Linked DNA regions of Homo sapiens: region 2 is linked to region 1. The links are contacts of gene promoters, found by promoter capture Hi-C in human tissues and cell types (Jung and others, 2019). All regions are on one chromosome and are shown on one strand. Each heading gives the region's core, a stretch centred on a gene start or on the middle of the fragment in contact. The rest is flanking DNA. Distances are from core to core; before and after follow the strand shown. Region 1 holds the start of BMP7 (bone morphogenetic protein 7). Region 2 has its middle 220 kb from the start of BMP7-AS1.

Region 1 (4,267 bases), core at 1,137-3,636:
GGGCTCAAGCACTTGCTGTTCCTCCACCTGGGATGCCTTTCCCTGGAAAAGCCTGTCTCTTTCTTGTCTTTCAGGACTCAGGTCAGTGGCATCTCCTCCAAAAACTCCCCTTCCCACCCTCCATCACCTCACCCTGTTTATCTGCGCCCCCGCCCCCACTGCCTGTCACTTATTGCAGGCTGAAGTGACCCAGGCTCTCCAGTTGTACACTCTCAGATGGACCCTGGACGACTGTGGCACTCCTGCAATTTCCCCAGTCTCCCTGGGGTAGGATTCCTGCTTGCCAGGATGCCCACCTTTCCTTCTCCCTCCTGCATGTCCTCCTCTGCCTGGCTTCTGAATTGTTTCCAGAGAGAGTGATAGACAAGATCTGCCTCTCCTTCAGTCCCTGAATCTTATTTAAGGCTCTTGCTTTGCTTCCCTGGCCTGGAGGCCGGCTCCTTGATGGAGTCTGCCATGTGGGTTCGCTCATGGCCATGTCTTCCTGCCCAGCATGGTGCTTGGCCCTGGGACTGGCCACATAATATCTGGGCCAGGTGCAAAATTAGTACGGGGCAGGGGGTACTTTGTTCATAGGTGATTCAGAACCACATATGGTGACCTCAGAGTAGGAAACCAAGTGTGGGGCCCTTAAGAGCTGGGGGGCCCTGTACGACTGTCCAGGTTGCAGGCCCCACAGCTCGCCTCCTGATATCCTGTGCTCCATGCTTGTCTGTTGAAGGAAGGAGTGAATGGATGAAGAGCAGGTGGTGGGGGTGGTTTGAGGGCCTTGCCTGGTGGGTGGGTAGAGGCCCCTCCCTGGCATGGGGCTCAAGACCTGTTCCATCCCACAGCCTGGGGCCTGTGTGTAAATGGCCAGGACCTGCAGGCTGGCATTTTTCTGCTCCTTGCCTGGCCTCTGGCCTCCCCTTTCTCCACCCATGTGGCCCCTCAGGCTGCCATCTAGTCCAAAAGTCCCCAAGGGAGACCCAGAGGGCCACTTGGCCAAACTACTTCTGCTCCAGAAAACTGTAGAAGACCATAATTCTCTTCCCCAGCTCTCCTGCTCCAGGAAGGACAGCCCCAAAGTGAGGCTTAGCCAGAGCCCCTCCCAGACAAGCGCCCCCGCTTCCCCAACCTCAGCCCTTCCCAGTTCATCCCAAAGGCCCTCTGGGGACCCACTCTCTCACCCAGCCCCAGGAGGGGAAGGAGACAGGATGAACTTTTACCCCGCTGCCCTCACTGCCACTCTGGGTGCAGTAATTCCCTTGAGATCCCACACCGGCAGAGGGACCGGTGGGTTCTGAGTGGTCTGGGGACTCCCTGTGACAGCGTGCATGGCTCGGTATTGATTGAGGGATGAATGGATGAGGAGAGACAGGAGAGGAGGCCGATGGGGAGGTCTCAGGCACAGACCCTTGGAGGGGAAGAGGATGTGAAGACCAGCGGCTGGCTCCCCAGGCACTGCCACGAGGAGGGCTGATGGGAAGCCCTAGTGGTGGGGCTGGGGTGTCTGGTCTCAGGCTGAGGGGTGGCTGGAAAGATACAGGGCCCCGAAGAGGAGGAGGTGGGAAGAACCCCCCCAGCTCACACGCAGTTCACTTATTCACTCAACAAATCGTGACTGCGCAGCTACAGTGGCTACCAGGCGCTGGGTTCAAGGCACTGCGGGTACCAGAGGTGCGGAGAAGATCGCTGATCCGGGCCCCAGTGCTCTGGGTGTCTAGCGGGGGTAAGAAGGCAATAAAGAAGGCACGGAGTAACTCAAACAGCAATTCCAGACAGCAAGAGAAACTACAGGAAAGAAAACAAACGTGCGAGGGGCGAGGCGAGGAAACAACCTCAGCTTGGCAGGTCTTGGAGGTCTCTGGGAGGAGAAAGCAGCGTCTGATGGGGGCGGGAGGTGGTGAGTGGGGAGAGGTCCAGGCGGAGGGAATGGCGAGCGCAGAGACAGGCTGGCAACGGCTTCAGGGAGGCGCGGAGGGGTCAGCGTGGCTGGCTTAAAAGGATACAGGGACTGAGGGGCAAGACCGGCTCAAGGGTCACCGCTTCCAGGAAGCCTTCTATTTCCGCGCCACCTCCGCGCTCCCCCAACTTTTCCCACCGCGGTCCGCAGCCCACCCGTCCTGCTCGGGCCGCCTTCCTGGTCCGGACCGCGAGTGCCGAGAGGGCAGGGCCGGCTCCGATTCCTCCAGCCGCATCCCCGCGACGTCCCGCCAGGCTCTAGGCACCCCGTGGGCACTCAGTAAACATTTGTCGAGCGCTCTAGAGGGAATGAATGAACCCACTGGGCACAGCTGGGGGGAGGGCGGGGCCGAGGGCAGGTGGGAGGCCGCCGGCGCGGGAGGGGCCCCTCGAAGCCCGTCCTCCTCCTCCTCCTCCTCCGCCCAGGCCCCAGCGCGTACCACTCTGGCGCTCCCGAGGCGGCCTCTTGTGCGATCCAGGGCGCACAAGGCTGGGAGAGCGCCCCGGGGCCCCTGCTATCCGCGCCGGAGGTTGGAAGAGGGTGGGTTGCCGCCGCCCGAGGGCGAGAGCGCCAGAGGAGCGGGAAGAAGGAGCGCTCGCCCGCCCGCCTGCCTCCTCGCTGCCTCCCCGGCGTTGGCTCTCTGGACTCCTAGGCTTGCTGGCTGCTCCTCCCACCCGCGCCCGCCTCCTCACTCGCCTTTTCGTTCGCCGGGGCTGCTTTCCAAGCCCTGCGGTGCGCCCGGGCGAGTGCGGGGCGAGGGGCCCGGGGCCAGCACCGAGCAGGGGGCGGGGGTCCGGGCAGAGCGCGGCCGGCCGGGGAGGGGCCATGTCTGGCGCGGGCGCAGCGGGGCCCGTCTGCAGCAAGTGACCGAGCGGCGCGGACGGCCGCCTGCCCCCTCTGCCACCTGGGGCGGTGCGGGCCCGGAGCCCGGAGCCCGGGTAGCGCGTAGAGCCGGCGCGATGCACGTGCGCTCACTGCGAGCTGCGGCGCCGCACAGCTTCGTGGCGCTCTGGGCACCCCTGTTCCTGCTGCGCTCCGCCCTGGCCGACTTCAGCCTGGACAACGAGGTGCACTCGAGCTTCATCCACCGGCGCCTCCGCAGCCAGGAGCGGCGGGAGATGCAGCGCGAGATCCTCTCCATTTTGGGCTTGCCCCACCGCCCGCGCCCGCACCTCCAGGGCAAGCACAACTCGGCACCCATGTTCATGCTGGACCTGTACAACGCCATGGCGGTGGAGGAGGGCGGCGGGCCCGGCGGCCAGGGCTTCTCCTACCCCTACAAGGCCGTCTTCAGTACCCAGGGCCCCCCTCTGGCCAGCCTGCAAGATAGCCATTTCCTCACCGACGCCGACATGGTCATGAGCTTCGTCAACCTCGGTGAGTAAGGGCAGGCGAGGGTACGCGTCTCCTTTCGGGGGCACTTTGAGACTGGGAGGGAGGGAGCCGCTTCTTCTATGCAGCCCGCCCAGCTTTCCGCTCCTGGCTGAAATCGCAGTGCCTGCCCGAGGGTCTCCCACCCACAGCCCTATGACTCCCAAGCTGTGTGCGCCCCCAGGTCGGGCGCGCTGGGTTCGGTGAGCCTGTAGGGGTTACTGGGAAGGAGGGATCCTCCGAAGTCCCCTCCATGTTACGCCGCCGGCCGCATCTCTGGGGCTGGAGGCAAGGGCCGTTCAAAGCGCGGGGCTCGGTCATGTGAGCTGTCCCGGGCCGGCGCGGCTCGCGCTACCTGGATGTAAAGGGCCCTTCCCGGCGAGGCTGCCTTGCCGCCCTTCCTGGGCCCCTCTCAGCCCTGCCTGGCTCTGGCATCGCGGCCGTCGCACCCCCTTACCCTCCCTGTCAAGCCCTACCTGTCCCCTCGTGGTGCGCCCGCCTTAGCGTACCGCGCGCTCCGAGCGCCTTGGGGCCCCTCTCCGGGCCGCCGGATGCCCCATTCTCTCTTGGCTGGAGCTGGGGAAGAAACGGTGCCATTGCTAATTTTCTTTGTTTTCTTTCTTTGTTTATTTTTTTCTTTTTTCTTTTTTTTTCTTTTCTTTTCTTTTTTTTTTTTTTTGAGACGGAGTTTCACTCTTGTCGCCCAGTCTGGAGTGCAATGGCGCGATCTCTGCTCACCGCAACCTCTGCCTCCCGGGTTCAAGCGATTCTCGTGCCTCAGCCTCCCGAGTAGCTGGGATTACAGGCATGCGCCACCATGCCTGGCTAATTTTGTATTTTTAGTAGAGACAGGGTTTCTCCATGTTAGGCAGGCTGGTCTCGAACTCCCGATCTCAGGTGATCCTCCCGCCTCAGCCTCCCAAAGTGGTGCTGGGATTACAGGCGTGAGCC
Region 2 (4,267 bases), core at 663-3,162, 270 kb after region 1:
CTTCAGGGGACATTTTGCGATGGCTGCAGACATCTTTGGTTGTTAGGACTGGGGATGGGAGTGTTCCTGGCCTCCAGTGAGTAGAGGCCAGGGATGCTGCTCGACACCCTACACTGTGCAGGACAGCCCCACAAAAGAAGTATCCAGGCCACAATGCCACAAATGCCAAGGTGAAGAAACCCTGGTCTAGGTAGCATCTTGCTCTTCAGACTGGCAACATTGATGTTTCCTGGAACTTGTTAGAAATGCAGAATCTTGGGTCTCACCCAGATCTGCTGAATCAGAATCCACATTTTAACAAGACCAACAGGCGACAGATCAAGACAGGTGCAAACACAGATCTGGAATGTTCAGCCTCTGAATTGTAATAGCCAAGGAGCTCCCATTTATTTCGAACCTACTATGTGTGGACCACGAAATGTCCACCCCCTCACTGATGCTCACCAGACCTCATCTTCCAGGCCCAAGGAGTTGAAGCTCAGAGACTGCAAGCTACCTCCCCAAGGACACCCAGCTGGTGAGCTGCAACGCCAGTATCCCGACCCACTCAGCCTATCCGAGCCTTAACCACCTGACCGCCTATTAGGGTCATCATGCCCTCGCTGATTCATTGAGGATCTCTGTGGGAGGGGACAGAACATGGATCGAATTTTAAATTTCCTGGGTGATTCCAGTCCGCAGCCACGGTTTTGAGCCACCACTGAAGCAGGGTCTCGCTCTGTCACCACGATGGAGTGCAGTGGTGCAATCACAGGTCACTGAAGCCTCCAACTCCTTCGCTCAAGCGATCCTCCTGACTCAGTCTTTTGAGTTGCTGGGACTATAGGTGCACACCACCACTCCCCACTAATTTATTTTCGTTGTTTTAGAGATGAGGTATTACTATGTTGTCCAGTCTGATCTTGAACTTCTGGCCTCAAGGGATCCTTCCACCTCAGCCTCTCAAATTGCGGGGATTACAGGCATGAGCCACCTCTCCTGGCCCACATGATCATTTCTAAAACTTATCTGATCATAAGAATCCCCTGAGGCCCTTGTTAAAAATGCAGATTCCCAAGTTGTTCTCTTGATATTTCTGAATCAATAGGTCTGGATCAAGGCCAGGGATTTGTATTTTTAGGAGGGTTCCTCTGTTAAGTCTGATGTTAGGCTAGTTGGAGACACTCTAAACATAAGGTCTGTCTCTCCATGCAGTCTCAGCAGGGCAAAATTGCCCCAAGGAGGGCAAATATTGTTTGGGGAGGATGAGGGAGAGTGGATAAGAAAGTCTTACACTTTTTATTGATAAAACACAGATAAACAGACAACCTAAAGAGATATGCAATATATCCATGGCATTAAGATCTCATAAGAAAGAACAGTTCAGGAGAAAACAAAGCCTAAAAATGATTATTAGAGGAAAAATCATGAAAACAAGTTATTATGTATTTAACTAGATATGTGGCTGACCCTAGACCCAAGCCTGACACCTGCCTGTCTCTGCTACCAGGAGAGATGAGCAAGAGTCAGAGACAGATTACCTAGGAGGTAGAAAGTGACCTGAACAGGAGAGAAACAATACATGGTTCACAGTAAAATTCAGTGTGGCTTGAGGTACTGTTACTGAACATCCTGTCTCTGGATAGACTGGCCCTTTGTCAGGTTCCTCCAAACCTCCATCCCATGTCTGAGGAGTTCTCTGCGTTATAAGGCAAAGAGCCATTCCCTATAGGAGCTCAACATGAGGCAAACTTATTTTACTAGACTCCCTTGCAGCTAGGACATGAACACATGACCTAGACTCAGCCAATCAGAAGCACCCATCCCAAACACATAGTGAAAGCTGCCAGTGCAAAGCTGCAGCTCCGGGCAGCACCGATGAAGCTGTGGGGAGGTGGCAGCTGCAATGGCTACAATGGGTTCCAGAAGCAGAGTCCAGAGAACAGTCTGGGGCAAAGTGCAGCATCTGTGCTCAGCAGGTGCAGCGGTGCACCATGCCATCACCTGACCAGTTCCACATCAGGATGAAGGGCATTGTCCCTGGCTGCATGAACCTGGCTCTGCAGCCTCTAGATAATTTCAGGAGCTGCCTGATACCATAAAAATAAATTGCATTTCTGTTCCTTGCAACTAGCAAATCTCACCAGTATGGAATTCCCTCAAAGATCCCAAGGGTTTATCAGCCTTGGCACTATTGCCATCTGGGCCAGAAGACACTTGGTTGTGGGGATCCTATAATACATAAGATGTTCACAGAGCACCCTTGATCCACTAGATGCCAGTAGCTCCTGCCAAGCACCTGCATTGTGACAACGAAAATGTGTCCAGGTATTGCCAAATGCCCCTGGATTGCCTGGTTAAGAACAACTGGTCTGGGCCCCGTTGTCACCAGAGTGGGTTGGTGTGCAATTTGGGAAACATCACCCTGGGTGTCACCCGAAATGATAGGCTCTCCCAACAGTTGCTAGGTGACAATTTTATATTTGTATCCATGTCGTCTATATGTGTAGCTGAAAATCTGAAACTGTGTGTGTCAAAACTGCTTTATAGTATAGTGATTACTTTTGAAGATTAGAATTGGAGGGTGAGAGTTTTTTATGTTACATATTCCTGTCCCATTTATATTTGTTACAGTGAATGTATATTAATTGTGGTGAAAAATATTTAAAAGACAGGCTGGAGAACTAGATGGAGGCAGCTGAATCCATTTTCCACGCTGCAAACAGGGTGATTTTTCTTTTTTTAAATTATTATTTTTTCAATAGTTTTTGGGGTACAGGTGGCTTTTGGTTACGTGATAGGTTCCAGAGTGATTTTTCTACTTTTTTTTTTTTTGAGACAGGGTCTTGCTCTATTGTCCAGGTTGGAGTACACTGGCACAATCTTGGCTCACTGCAATGTCCACCTCCTGGGCTCAGGTGATCCTCCCACCTCAGCCTCTCAAGTAGCTGAGACTACAGACATATGCTGCCACCCCACTTGGCTAATTTTTGTTTTTTTTTTGTGGAGAGCGGGTCTCACTATGTTACCCAGGATGGTCTCAAACTCCTGGGCTCAAGCGATCCTCCTGCCTTGGCCTCTCAAATTGCCGGGATCACAGTTGTGAGCCACTGCTCCCAGCCAGAGAGTGATTTTTCTAAATGCCAACCTGATCCTCTTGCTGCTTAATCTCCTTGCAAGACTTCCCGTGGCTTTCAGGATAAAGGCTAAACTCTGTGGCATCACTGACAAGGCCCTTTGGGACCCTCACAGAGCCTTCCTCTTTCTTCAGCTTCATGCCCCACTTCTTGGTCTCCCACTTTTGCTCTCCTGCCTGCGGAGGCCCCAAGTGGCTGCCAGCCTGAGACTAGCTCAGCTCCTCAGTCTGCGCTCCCTCTGGCCTGCACCCCAAGTTTTCCCAGTTCTCTGAGGTTGTAGCAGCTGCAATATCACCTCCCAGGCAGCCTCCTGATCCATACTCCCAGGCTTCTAAAGGGACACAATGGCCACTTCCATCTTCACGTTCATTGCGACCTGAGTAACTCATCTTAAACTGAAGAACTCATCATTTTTGTCCCTTAGATCTCAATGCCCCCCACCATGTGGCCACCTTTGAATATCTATTTTAACTCCCACAGCCATTTGGAGTGGACAGACTTGTGTTCTAATCTCACCTTTGAACCTTATTGGCTGTGTGACCTTGGGCAAGTCACTTAACCTCTCTGGGCCTCAGTTTCCTCATCAAAATTGGAGGTAATTATAGCCTACCTTATAGAATAGTGGGGATCAAAATGATGAAAATAATAAATATAAAGCTCTCAGCATAGGGCCTGGCATAAAGAAAGCTTTCATCAAATGTTGTTTATTACTATTGCTATACATTTGCTATGGTGCCTAGAACGTAAATGCTCAAGAAATAATAGTAATAACAATAGTAATTATTTATTTATTGAACAGTTCTTGCCAAACACTGTGTTAAGTGCTTTGGCTACATCCTCCTGCTTACTCCTTGCAACAACACTATAATCAGGATACATTTATTCTCTTTCATAAATAAAGACGCCCTGGGAGGTGAAGCAATTTGCCCAAGCCACACAGGTAGAGGCCGGATAGCAGTCGGTTACAGGCCTCTTGGTCCCGAGTCCCTGATTGTCACACCACGCTGTACTCTCCTGCAGTAGGAGTTCTTGGTAATGGGGATATGGGAATTTTCCTTATTCTGTGTCCCTAATCTAGTCCAGACCCCTCCTCACTGAATCAAGGCACCCTGGGCTAATGGACCTTTGAGAGGAAGGGACACTTTCCCCAT

Evidence for each region. The method cuts DNA at HindIII sites, captures the fragments that hold promoters and counts their contacts. A contact is called where the count stands out against the background at its distance.
Region 2: a fragment that was not itself captured here is called in contact with the fragment with the promoter of BMP7 in region 1 in 1 of the 25 tissues and cell types used here (mesendoderm cells).

What each region holds. Positions count from the first base shown.
Region 1 is chr20:57,264,760-57,269,026 of GRCh38, reverse strand. BMP7 (bone morphogenetic protein 7) reads left to right here and starts at 2,386. Exons shown (of 7, transcript NM_001719.3): 1 at 2,386-3,322. The coding sequence starts at 2,905. LOC112268270 (translation initiation factor IF-2-like) reads right to left here and starts at 2,587. Exons shown (of 2, transcript NR_171651.1): 1 at 2,385-2,587; 2 at 1,740-2,244. RefSeq lists a cis regulatory region at 2,187-2,279, a promoter at 1-2,898 and an enhancer at 4,007-4,267. The HindIII fragment of the contact is 13,311 bases long and covers 1-4,267 here.
Region 2 is chr20:56,996,123-57,000,389 of GRCh38, reverse strand. No RefSeq gene overlaps it. Among named protein-coding and RNA genes, the nearest start is that of BMP7-AS1, 220 kb to the left of the region's middle. The HindIII fragment of the contact is 6,874 bases long and covers 1-4,267 here.